2 separate regions of the Homo sapiens genome follow, and region 1 is linked to region 2. The links are contacts of gene promoters, found by promoter capture Hi-C in human tissues and cell types (Jung and others, 2019). All regions are on one chromosome and are shown on one strand. Each heading gives the region's core, a stretch centred on a gene start or on the middle of the fragment in contact. The rest is flanking DNA. Distances are from core to core; before and after follow the strand shown.

Region 1 (6,560 bases), core at 1,542-4,041, 780 kb before region 2:
GCCTTGGCCTCCAAAGTGTTAGAATTACACGGGTGAACTACCACACCTGGCCTGAAATAGTCCTTTCTAATTCAAACCTGGCTGTTTTGCCAGGGAGGACTTACTTGCTCTGAGACCATATTATTGGAAACTTAGAGTGTAATAGAGAACGTTTGATTCTTCACTTGTAGAAATAGTCAGAATTTCAAGGTTCAAAATTTCACAGACATAGACATAGGGCTGTAATGAGAAGGAAAATATGTATGTACCATCCTTTCTTCCAAAGTGTCCTTGGAGGAGAGCAAGCATAAGAATGGTGCTCAGTGAGGCCACGAGGCTGGGATACAACACCCTGAATCAAAGCACGCTGTCATAGCCTCCTAACAAAAGAGAATGTCAAGGTTTGAAACCGGAATTCATTATAATATGCAGTATTTTATGTACTTGTAAATAAAAGTAAGGGAGTATAGGAGGAGATGATAAGGGGAGGATTTGTTTTGAATCTGTCTCATCTTCTGCTTTGTTGAAGTGCTAATCAGATGATCTTTCTATCCTACCAATATATGAGAAAAAGTGTCTTAGAGTAAGAGTATTGGAGCTTGTTCTTGTTATCCTAAAGGCAAGCTTCCCTGTCTCATGTAAGAACTCCAGCTTTTTGTGTTCCCTTTAAATGTATATTTTGTGTTTTTTGTTCATTTTGTTGCTAAAAAAGGTAGTGCGGATTTTGTTAGTGAGGAGACAGCCTTTCAACCTTCCTATCTCCTTGGTACCAATTTAAGCCAAAAATTATTTTTTTCTATACAAGATATTAACCTTGCCATAACTAATTCATGCCATTGTGACCATGAGTTTAGCTATCTCTTTTCTATATAAGGAATCACTGCTGGGAATTGGTTTCCTTCCCAAGGGACCCTGTAATTTTGATTATTTTACTTCCATCCAGGATGTCACTATACCACAGGAGGCTGGCTGACTCAGGGATGGGAAGAAAAGGCATAGAAAAATAAAGTAGCTTATGTTTCTATGCCTAGGATGTTTGTTTCAAAAGTTCAGCTGGGGATCTGAGACAGGAAAGGTACAATAAATTTATGTTAAAAATTTCAGCTGGTCATCTGAGACAGGAGAGGTACAATACATTTATGTTAAATTTTTTTTTTGTTTCTGTCTTGCTGTTTACATTTATTTAAAATATTTTAAATGGAGATATACCATTATGCCTGCAGAAGGTCCTATTCCTGATACTTAAAAAGCCTAAATAAAGATATATAAATTTTAACCAGTTCCTAATACACTTACAGAATAAAAGTGTGTTGTCTACTGGAGTTTTTCTTCCCAGATCCATTTATGGAGAGGCCATAAAAAATCTGATGCGGGCATGGCAGAAATTTATATTAAAGCTGTGTAATAAGTCCATGGGTATTGGTTGTTGGTTTAAAATAACTCTACTTAAAATTGAATCTCAAGAATATATTTGAAAATATTTTAAAGTATTTTAGAGAAAAAAGCGACATTACTCACTTAGGAGATTGACTTCAAAGCAGGAATCATTTGAGATTTTGGATGAATAGTTATGAGAATTCCTTAGTGAACAGGACAGTGCTGGAGATGATCACTGAATGCAAATGAATACATTGTAATATAAATAGTATGTCATAATAATTGAAACATGGCTTTTTTAGATGGAAGATCATATTTCCTCTTTTAAAAGTTGATTTTATCCAATATATCCTGCTGGTTGTAATATTTAGTTATATATGGAGGTTCAAGCTTAAATACTTGAGCCCCATCTCACTTGCAAAAGCAAGTAAATTGCAGAGTTCACAAACCTGGAAACAACTCAGGACAACTCCAGTGTTTGGTATAATGTTGTTAGGTGAAATAATACTAGAATATTATGCAAGGGACCTGGTATTTCTTTCTTTTCTTTTCTTCTTTTGAGACATAGTCACTCTGTCACCCAGGCTGGAGTGCAGTGGCACAATCTAGGCTCACTGTAACCTCCGCTGCCCGGGTTCAAGGGATTCTTCTGCCTCAGCCTCCCGAGTAGCTGGGACTACAGGCATGTGCCACCACGCCCGGCTAATTTTTGTATTCTCAGTAGAGATGGGATTTCACCATGTTGGTCAGGCTGGTCTTGAACTCCTGACCTCATGATTCACCTGCCTCGGCCTCCCAAAGTGCTGGGATTACAGGCGTGAGCCACCGTGCCCAGCTGGGACCTGGTATTTCTAACAAATTCTGTTGTTTTCTCACACTGAATTCTGAGTTCTATTATGACAAATTCTCACTTTTTGTTTCTATGCTTTCTTGATTGCAAATAATTTTTTGAGATTTTGTTAATTTTAGTTACTTCTGGAATATTCCAACCCAAATTATAGATGTTTAGTCCTTTTTAAAATCAACTTATAATTTATTTGAATCCTAGGTCTTAGTTGCTTGATCAATGTTTAGGCAGCAGAATAATTGAGTAGCATTCCGCATAGCTAAGTAGCACTGTTTCGCAACCTGTGCCCTCTTGCTCTAGAAAATACTATTGCTTGACATATACCAGGAGTTTTAGGTTAGAGTATTTGGCAGTGTCTATATGGAATCAAAAACTTGCATTAAAATGGAGAAGAATATCTTTGTGAATCCTCTAGATGGCAGAACAATTACAACAAACATATCTTAGAAGGTGTCCAAGAAGCGTGTGGAGGAGAGAGTGTAGAAGAGATGGGGTGAGAAGGGGACCTGCGGGCTCTAAGCTTTCTGTCTCAACCCAACCAGGGCAGATCTGCTCTTATATGTCTTATATCTTGATATTTTATCTAAGATGGTGTTTGAAAGAAGGAACATGGCTAAAAACATGATAGGATGTCAAAACTCAAAATCTGTTGTTCTTTTTTTCCTTCAGGATAGAGTTTCGCCCTTGTTGCTCAGGCTGGAGCGTAATGGTGCAATCTTGGCTCACTGCAAGCTCCACCTCCTGGGTTCAAGCGATTCTCCGGCCCCAGCCTCCAAGTAGCGGGGATTACAGGCATGCACCACCACACCCGGCTAATTTTTGTATTTTTATTAGAAACGGGGTTTCAACATGTTGGCCAGGCTGGTCTCAAACCCCTGACCTCAGGTGATCCACCTGCCTCGGCCTCCCAAAGTGCTGGGATTACAGGCGTGAGCCACTGTGCCCGGCCCAAAGCTCAAAATCTTAAGTTGTGCACGCCAACATCAAATCACAGATTTCTGTGAGGACGTACACATGCATTATTCATGTACCCTGAGCATCTTCAGACTATAGCTGCCCCCACCCCAACACACATGTTGATGAATTCTAGAGTGATGCTGGCCTACTTCAACACTCTGCTACTTTAATTTCTATCATAGGGGTTGAGGCACAGCATAGTCTTTTAGCCTTTGTCCCTGCTTTTAAAGAAATCACCATTGTTGGTATATTGTATGTTGGCATAAGGAGAAGAGATGACTTGGGGAGATATAACATAGGTAACTTGCAAAGATTCATTCCTCACAGAGAGTGAAAGAGGGAGAGGGGGCAGGTAGAGCATCCAACAGAATAAATGTAAGATTTTAAGTGTGTCACTTTCTCCACTCATCTTTGAATAGAAAGATGACTGTAGTATCTCTTCAATTTCATTTGCAAAGTACTTATTCAAATTCCCCTGAAGTCACTTTTTAATAGCAAGACCAATTTAGATCCTTTTGGATTATCGATGAAATTCTAGATCTAGTAGTATAGCAAACGTGATTTCCATATGTCAAATAGAGCAAAAGCATAAGGGATAAATTTGCTATCCTGTATTTGCATACCTCATAATATCATATACTATCCCTAACAGATATTATCTCCTTATAGCTATTATTTCAGTATAAACTACTTTAAAAGACTCCTTCATTAGACTTTTCTGCAGTTACCTACTTGCCTATTATCAGTGAAATGCAGCTGAGGTATATTTTAGGATCACTATTCTTCTGGCTGTCTGAGATTGTACCTGAGAATGCATTAAGATACATTTTCACATTCATTTAACACATCTGCTGATTAACTAGTCCTGAGCTTACCTTGGGAATAGACAGATAAATTAGATGTGGTCTTTACTCTTAAGGCCCTCAACCATGAAAAATGCAATTTCGTATGTCAGACAACTATATAAATAGATTTTCTTATTTTTTTAACTTTTAGATTTTTTTATAGAGATGGAGTCTTGCTGTGTTGCCTAGGTGGGTCTCGAACTCCTGGCCTCAAGCGATCCTCCAGCTTTGGCCTCCCAGAGTGCTGGGATTACAGGTTGCGCTTGGCCATAAATAGGTTTTCAATGGAATCTAACAAGGTGTTATGAAAGAAGTATCCTCAAAGTGTTGGGGAAGTTCCTAGGCATGAGAAGCTCTTCTGTAGGTATTACCAGAAGTTACCCAGAAGTTACTGCATGTAGAGGACTGTCTTTGCAACACAAATGAAGGGAAGGTATACAGTTGATGAAATATTAAGAGTTGTACTATGTTATATACTGAGCCTGATAGATTTACACCAACAGCTTTCTAGGTTACTGTACCAAAAAATTCTATAAATAGCTAAGGATTTTTAGTTGATAACTGAACTGGAAATCATCTCTGGCTTTTGCTTCTTAAAGAACACATTATTCAGTGCTACATTTCTATAGTGATAATCAGGAAATAAGAAGGCCCACGTAGTCTGATGATGACAACAGTGTGACGTCAAACAATGTCTATAAAAGTGGTAATGTTTTCTGATTGGTCCAGATTCTTGAGTTATTTCACTAATAATTTCAATACAAAAAATGGAGAATGTCAGATCTTTAAACAACTGCTGAATAACCCATTGGTTGTAATGAACCAGTACATAGGACTGAATAAATGCTTTAAGAATTCTCTACACACCACTGGATCAAGCAATCTGTGTAACTGTAGATAATGAGACTTCAGCTTGACTTGTAATTATGCGTGGAGTAGTTAACTGTATTTTTTACACATCATCTTTGTATAGGCTCTGAGTCTAGGAGGGTCAGTCACAAATGACTGATACTCTGAATCAGGGTATTGCCACTAATCAAAGGACAGACTGCACATGTGTTCAGTGTGGAAGGATTAGTTGGTCTGCTTTGTCTTTTGGCTACTGTTGCAAACAAAGATTACAAAAAGAGGTCTGTATATGCCTATGTGTTTGTAAAAGGAGCTTTCATTTTTGTTTCCTTAATTGAACCCTAACTCCTGATTTATTTTTATTTATTTTTTACAAATATTTGTTGAAGACTTTCAGAGAACACAGAAGTTTTGCTAATTCAAGACAGTCCTTTGTTTTTTTGTTTTTGTTTTTGTTTTTGTTTTCTGTTGTTGTTTTTGTTTTTTAACAAATCCATGCTGTTTTAGAAAGGTGTTAACCAGCCCCCTCCCTGCCCTCATACTAGTCCATGTGTCAGATACTAATTAATCTATGTCATGGGATCACTTTATAATCTATATTTAGGGATCTCTTTCTCATTCAGAGACACCGTCTTTCTCATTTTGGGTGTTTTGGTAATTTTTCAATTTTCTGAGTAGCATCAGTATTTCTGCTTGAACCAAGGTGAAATTTTGCATCTATTTCTCAGTTCTCTAGGGGCCTCTTTCATGACTGTCTGCTTGCTTACTGGTATTTTCCTTACTCCCGTTTTATCATGGTCTGTGAATTTAACCAACATGATGTTTACTCCCGCTTTTGAATTATTAATGAGAAAACTGTGAGATGGTACTTTTATCTTTAATAGTTGATGCTGAAAAAGTGACAAATGCAATAAAAGCATCTTTCTCTAATTCAGTTCCTGTCATGCATCTCTTTAGTGTCTTGGTGATATGACTTGAAATAATAGTGCTTACATCTCTCTTTTAGCTAGTTCACACTGAAAGCATATAATCATCTGTTTGATATCAGAGCCACTTCCCAGTCACAGATTGTGATGTCACAAACCAAAGATTGTTCTCTCTCAGCAGGAAGAAGCTGGAGAGGAGATGATCTTCATGGTGAACTACATCCTTATTCAAATTTGGTCACTTCATAAGGAAAATTAACCATAATAAGGAACAAATATATTGGCTAGTTGAAATGCCCAGTTGAATTAAGCTTGAAACACGGTGCCATTATAATGGAATGAAAAAAATTCCTTATGAAAACTTAAAGTTATAATAATGAAGATATAAGTAAATATATATTTAATGCATTTAAAAATATTATGCAATGTCCCTTTAAGTTGAATGCTAACACAGAAAAATGAATTTTAGGTATGTTTCTAATTTTATATACAAAATTATGTTGCTTGGTATTTCAGACAAAAATTACTTTTTAAGATTGTTATGTCAACATACACGAAATGGATGTGTTCATTTTGACCTAGATGCCATTTTTATTTTATCATAGTTTAAATAAAAAGCTTATAGCTTTTGGATAATTTAAAATGACCAGAATTTAAGGATATAGCAATAGGTATTATTATAAGGATATGGCAGCCAAAATATTTGCTCCATTTCTATGAAAGGAACTAATGATACACAATCACATTACTTTTACAATATAATACTTTTATATAATATGT
Region 2 (5,889 bases), core at 2,708-5,207:
AGGCCTAACACACACAGCATTATAAAAAAACACCAACAATGGCTACGGGAGTTATGAGCCAGGAACACTGAATGAAAATTATATGTATTAATATACATTAAAATTAATTATATATGTATTATATATATTAAAATATATGTATATAATAACACAGGAATGAATGGGGAATCCCATGAAATCCTATTTACCCCTGGGGACTTCAAACGAGAATGTGTAAATAGTACCTTAAGCCCCAGGTAGGCAAGGACCATTATTTCCGTTTTCTTGGTTCCCTTTGATAAGCAAATTGACCAAATTTAGTAATTTCGAATTCATAGGCATTGTATCATCTACTTCACATGTTCCACAGAGGAATGCATTTCGGTAAGGATTATCAGAGACAGCTTTTTCTCTTAGGCAGGCAGTATGGTATATTGTGAAAATGTGGGCCTTGGCCGGGCTTGGTGGCTCATGCCTGTAATCCCAGCACTTTGGGAGGCTGAGGCGGGCAGATCACTGGGTCAGGAGTTTGAGACCAGCCTGGCCAACATGGTGAAATCCCATCTCTACTAAAAACACAAAAAATTAGCTGGGTAGGGCACCTGTAATCCCAGCTACTCAGGAGGCTGAGGCAGGAGAATCGCTTGAACCCAGGAGGCGGAGGTTGCAGTGAGCCGAGACTGCGCCACTGCACTCCAGCCTGGACAACAGAGACTCCGTCAAAAAAAAAAAAAAAAAAAAGGAAAGAAAGAAAATGTGGGCCTCCAGGTCAGAATGATTTGGGGTCAAGACTTTTTCTTAAACTTGCAACCTCAAGTGAGTCACTATCCTCTCTAGTCCGAGTTTCCTCAGCCTTGAGGTGGTGATAACACCTACCCTGCTGGGTGGTTGTGAAGATTAGTAATTTTGTTGATAAAGTGATCTCTTCAGGTATGGTCCAGATTGAGTGTTCTCAGCTAGGCTGTGCATTTCCATTAGGAAATGGGCTTTATTGAACTGGATATCCCTAGAGTCTAGTACAATAACATATATTAGGCACTTAGTAGCTGTTTATTTTTTCATTTTTTATTTTTTATTTTGAGACAGGATCTAGCTCTGTCACCCAGGCTGCAGTGCGAGGGCTTAAGTGATCCTCCTGCCTCGGCCTCTCGAGTACCTGGGACTACAGGCATGCACCACCACACCCAGCTAATTTTTTAACATTTATTTTTTGTAGAGATAGGGTCTCACTGTGTTGCCCAGTCTGGTCTCAAACTCCTGGGTCCATGCAATCCTCTCGGCCAGTAACTGTTTATTAAGCAAGGATCACATAAATACTCCACTAACAAGCTGGGCATGGTGGCTCACGCCTGTAATCCCAGCACTTTGGGAGGCCGAGGCGGGCAGATTGCTTGAGGTCAGGAGTTCGAGACCAGCCTGGACGACATGGTGAAACCCCATCTCTATTAAAAACACAAAAAATAGCCAGGCATGGTAGTGTATGCCTGTAGTCCCAGCTACTCAGGAGGCTGAGGCAGGAGAATCACTTGAACCTGAGAGACAGAGGTTGTAGTGAGCCGAGATTACACCAGTGTACTCCAGCCTGGGTGACAGAGTGAAATTGTCTCAAACAAAACAAAACAAAACAAAACAAAACAAAACAAAACAAAACTCCACTAACTTGTTAATTAGTGTATACCTTTGTATTGATCTATAACCTTTAACTTATTTATATTTTGTCTTTATTAATAGCCTCTTTGGGAAAATATTTTTCTTCTCCTTTCTCTTTAAAACACCTCCTACTCCCTCCCCCTACCAAGCTTAGAGCAAGTACATATTTCCAGGTTTGATTAAAGGCCAGAGTAGGATTTAGGAATTTCTTCAGAACACTGTTGAAACAATGCTGGAATATGACTTTGGATTAACATCCTTTTACCTTTCTAGGACTCAGCTCACACGACCATGATATTATTTTGTGGGTGGACTTTAAAAGATTTCTACATCAATTAAAACCTAGTTTGACTTAAGCCCTGCAAAATTTTACTTCCTTCCCAACAATAGGAAATCACAGCTCCCTTCTATGAGCAAAGTTGACTTGCAATTGCTCCTAACACATGTCAGAGGTGACACTTCACTCTTAAAGGTGCTTCTGAGGCTGCGGTTTCAAGAAGTCAGTAGTGTGAAAACTGGATCCCTATATGACAATTTTCAGGTAAAAAGAAAAAAGCATCAAGGAATTAAGAGTCGTACTGAGGGCTTCTTATTCTTCTAACTGATGATGATGATTTTTAGACAGGAGATATACGGACCTCGTATTGACTCTACTCCTAACTACGAACATGACCCAAGGACAATTACTTGAACTTTGGGAACCTCAGTTTTCTTATCTATAAGTGGAATTTACAAGGGGAAGATATGAGGATTGAAGGAGATAATGTATATGAAGTGCCTATGGAGCCGGGCACAGCACTTCACAACTGTAATCTCGGCATTTTGGGAGGCTGAGAAGGGAAGATCGCTTGAGCTTAGGAGTTTGAGACCAGCTTGGGCAATATGGTGAAACCCTGTCCCTACAAATAAAAAATTAAAAAATTAGCTGGACATGGTGGTGCCCGCCTGTAGTCCCAGGTACTTTGGAGGCTGAGTTGGGAGGATGGCTTTAGCCCACGGGGTTGAGGCTGCAGTGAGCCAAGATCGCACCACTGCACCCCAGCCTGGGTGACAGAGTGAGACCGTGTGTTAAAAAAACAAATAAATAAAGGGCCTATCAGTGTTTGGCTAATATTGTGATTAAGAATAAATCAGAGTTCCAATAAACTATTATTTCTAGAAAAAAAATAGTGAAAAAAATCACCTTAAAAATACCTTCCAAATTTTTTTCCCATTTACTTATTTGAAAACAGAATCTATTCAGGACAAAATTCTATCTTCAAGTACCAAATGGGTGATACAGTTCGCATTTATCCAAAAGCAGATTAAAGACAATGCCTTTTCTTGCCTACCTACTTGGAAAAGATCTCAGTGTCACTCAAATCACATTCCAAATCTCAACGACATTAAGGCCTCAAATCCTCTTAGGAAAGGTTTGAAGGTAGTTCATTTCAGTAATGATTAGACACTTGGGGACAAAACAGTACCTTGGCATCAAGGTCTGTACTGATTCACCAGCACAGAAATAGCAGTAACAAGATCTTCAACTCTGAGGTGTTCAAATAAGCAGACAAACTCCCTCGTGAGGCCCAGGCCTCTTGACATCCGGACTCAGTCTTTCTTTCTCAGATCGCCAAGGGTCTGGCCCATTTCTCAGCCTAAACCTATTTTGCGTTTAATTCAAACCAGTCAAAGTAACTTAACCGCCAGCAGTTAAAAAGCTACTAGGAGGAAGCGTAGGCAGGAGATGGGAGAGGAAAAGGCTCCTGTCAGGGTTTGGGCTTATGTGTGGATTCTTGAATTCTCCTTCTTTGTTCCTTTTAGCACTTACGATCAAGAACGGCTAGGCTGAGGGGGCAGGGGGGCCAGGCCACTGGAGCGAAACGGCCTCTCCGGATCTGGAGGCGTGGGAACCTCGGGAATAGTGGGGAGTTCCAGACCAGTTCCCTTCCCCCATCTGAACAAGTCCAGAGCGTGCGCCTTGAGAGGCGCTCGGAAACAGGGAAGCTGGGGACACGTAGCGAGAGACTGGTTGTCGCCCTGGCTGTCCGTCTTAGACCTAGCTTAGCGACCACCGCCTTCAATCCCTCAGCCCGGATCAGACGGTGCCAAAAGACAGCACTGCTTCCCAGCCTGGCCCAACGGCTCGGCTGCTGATTGGGCACCGCCGCCTCCCGCCCCGCCTCCCCTGCCACCTCGGGCGCCGCTGCACGTTTCCACTGGTCTTCAGCCCTGCCGATCAGTTTACTGCTCACCTCCCCCAAACAGCTCGTCAGGCCGGCGCGTGCTAGGAAGGCGGGGCCTGTGGCCTGTGGGGCGGAGCCTCGGTGGAGGTCGGCGCAGCTGCCCCTTTGGGCTTTGGCTCTGGACTGGAGCGCAGCATCCTTCGAGGCTGCAGCCGCCACGGCTGTTGCCGTAAGCAATCCTCCTGCCTCAGCCTCCCGAGTAGCTGGGACTCGGGACCAGCCTCCCGAGTATTGGTCAGGTAAAGAGAGTCTTGTCTGTTCTGCTGGCCATCTGCCCGTCTCTTCTTCCCGACCAAAGGCTGCCTGCTCCGCCTTCCCCCGTGGCTTTCAGGGTTCTTGGAATGAGGCATCAAGTCTATTTACCCCGCCAGCTTATCTTCCTCCCCTTCTGTGTCGGTTCCTCCAGCTCCCCCACCAAGCTGCTCCCAAGTACGTTGGTGGGCCCTCCGGGTCATCCCAACGCTCCTCACTACAGAACTCCTGTCGTTGACTCTCAGGTCCCAGCCCCCTTGACCCGCCAGTGCAGTCTCATTCCCAGCTTGGCACAGGAAAGGTGGAGGGCGGGAGGGCGGGAGGGCGGGGGACGGAGAGATGCAGAGCTTTTTTTTTTTTTTTTTTTTTTTTTTGAAGCTGGATGTGTTTAGCGCAGAGGGGGAGCACCACAATGGGATTGCATTGGGAACAGAAGCAGCTTCATGACTATGGTTGGCAATGACTAGAAAGGTATCTGTTGCTGCTTTTTGCTTGTGTTTATAGATGACATTTACCATCACCGTTTTCTTCTTCTTTCATCATCATCATCATCACCATTGCCACTACCACCACCTCCAAGGCCACTACCACCACAGCATCTCTGTTCCTCCATCAGAGCTCTTCAAGTTCTGTAAAGGCAGATTCTCTAAAGGCATGTAAGTGCTGACGGATCCCCCAACCCCCTCCCCCACCACCAAATAACGAACAGTGCTCTTGCCCCCTGAGGCCAGAGCCAAGCCCTCATTTAACTCAAGAACAAGTAGCTGGGAGCAGAGTGTGAGCTGGGAGGATTTTCCTTATCCTCATTTGCAATTGAGATTGCCAAAGAAAACCCTTTATTTTAATCATCCACATTTCTGCTTGCTGTCTCCTGGAGAGTTCCATGTTAGCACTCACACACTCCGAATGGGCTGAATGCAGAGCCTGAACCTGTGATATATATGGGGAGTGGCAGTCACTGAGAGGTGAATGTCCAGACCCAATCCTTTAAGAAGACCAGGTGGAGTAGCAGACAACCTGACTTTCTGCTACAGTAGCTCCAGCTGTACTAAAGCATGTTTACTATTCATGTTTGCATATGGGACATGTGCCATCATCTGCTATGCCCCCTTGCGTGTGTATTGGCAGGGGGGCGGAGGGGCGCATCTAAATTCCTAGGAGAGAGAATTATATTCTGTTCTCTACACCAGGTAGCATCTTATAGGCACACCAATGGGATTCAACAGCCGTTGCTTAGCTGTTTCTAGGGCTTACTGCAAATCTCTTGGATCACAGACTTATTAACCCTTTTTTGGGAGGGAAAACAGTATAGCTGAGAATTGCATACCAGATTAACTGTCGTTGTGGAAGATGTTGCTTCCACAATGAATCAATGAGGTCTCGGGTCTTCTTGATCAGATATCTAAACACTAGTCTCCTTTCTCTCAACTGTGTTACAGTCCAGGAGCAGGACCAATGAATAGTTAGACATATTGCAGGAACAAAGAAGCAATGGCCTCAATGGAGGGAAACAATGGAGAAGAGTAGTGAGACAGTATATTGTAATGGCTAAACTCATAAACCTGTCAGACATAGGTTCAAATCCTGGACCAGCCACTGACTAGCTCAGTGATTTTTGCAAGTTGCTTGCCTCTTTAATTTTAATTTCTCGTCTGTAAAATAGGGATAATACTACCTGTCTCTTAGGAGAAGGTGTGAGGATTAAACGAGATAATATAGGTAAAATACTCAGTAGTTTCTGGCACATAAGTGGGGAATTTATAGTAACTGCTATTAATAATAC

What was found. The method cuts DNA at HindIII sites, captures the fragments that hold promoters and counts their contacts. A contact is called where the count stands out against the background at its distance.
Region 1: a contact is called between a fragment that was not itself captured here and the fragment with the promoter of FMN1 in region 2, in 3 of the 25 tissues and cell types used here (dorsolateral prefrontal cortex, lymphoblastoid cells and mesendoderm cells).

Annotation. Positions count from the first base shown.
Region 1 is chr15:33,971,283-33,977,842 of GRCh38, reverse strand. All of the region lies in intron 2 of AVEN (apoptosis and caspase activation inhibitor), which reads left to right. All of the region lies in intron 1 of CHRM5 (cholinergic receptor muscarinic 5), which reads right to left. Among named protein-coding and RNA genes, the nearest start is that of CHRM5, 6.1 kb to the right of the region's middle. The HindIII fragment of the contact is 3,232 bases long and covers 1,176-4,407 here.
Region 2 is chr15:33,192,782-33,198,670 of GRCh38, reverse strand. FMN1 (formin 1) reads left to right here and starts at 3,957. Exons shown (of 21, transcript NM_001277313.2): 1 at 3,957-4,093; 2 at 4,611-4,762. LOC105370759 (a long non-coding RNA gene) reads right to left here and starts at 3,760. Exons shown (of 3, transcript XR_932090.3): 1 at 3,096-3,760. RefSeq lists silencers at 3,655-3,864, 3,639-3,978. The HindIII fragment of the contact is 9,448 bases long and covers 809-5,889 here.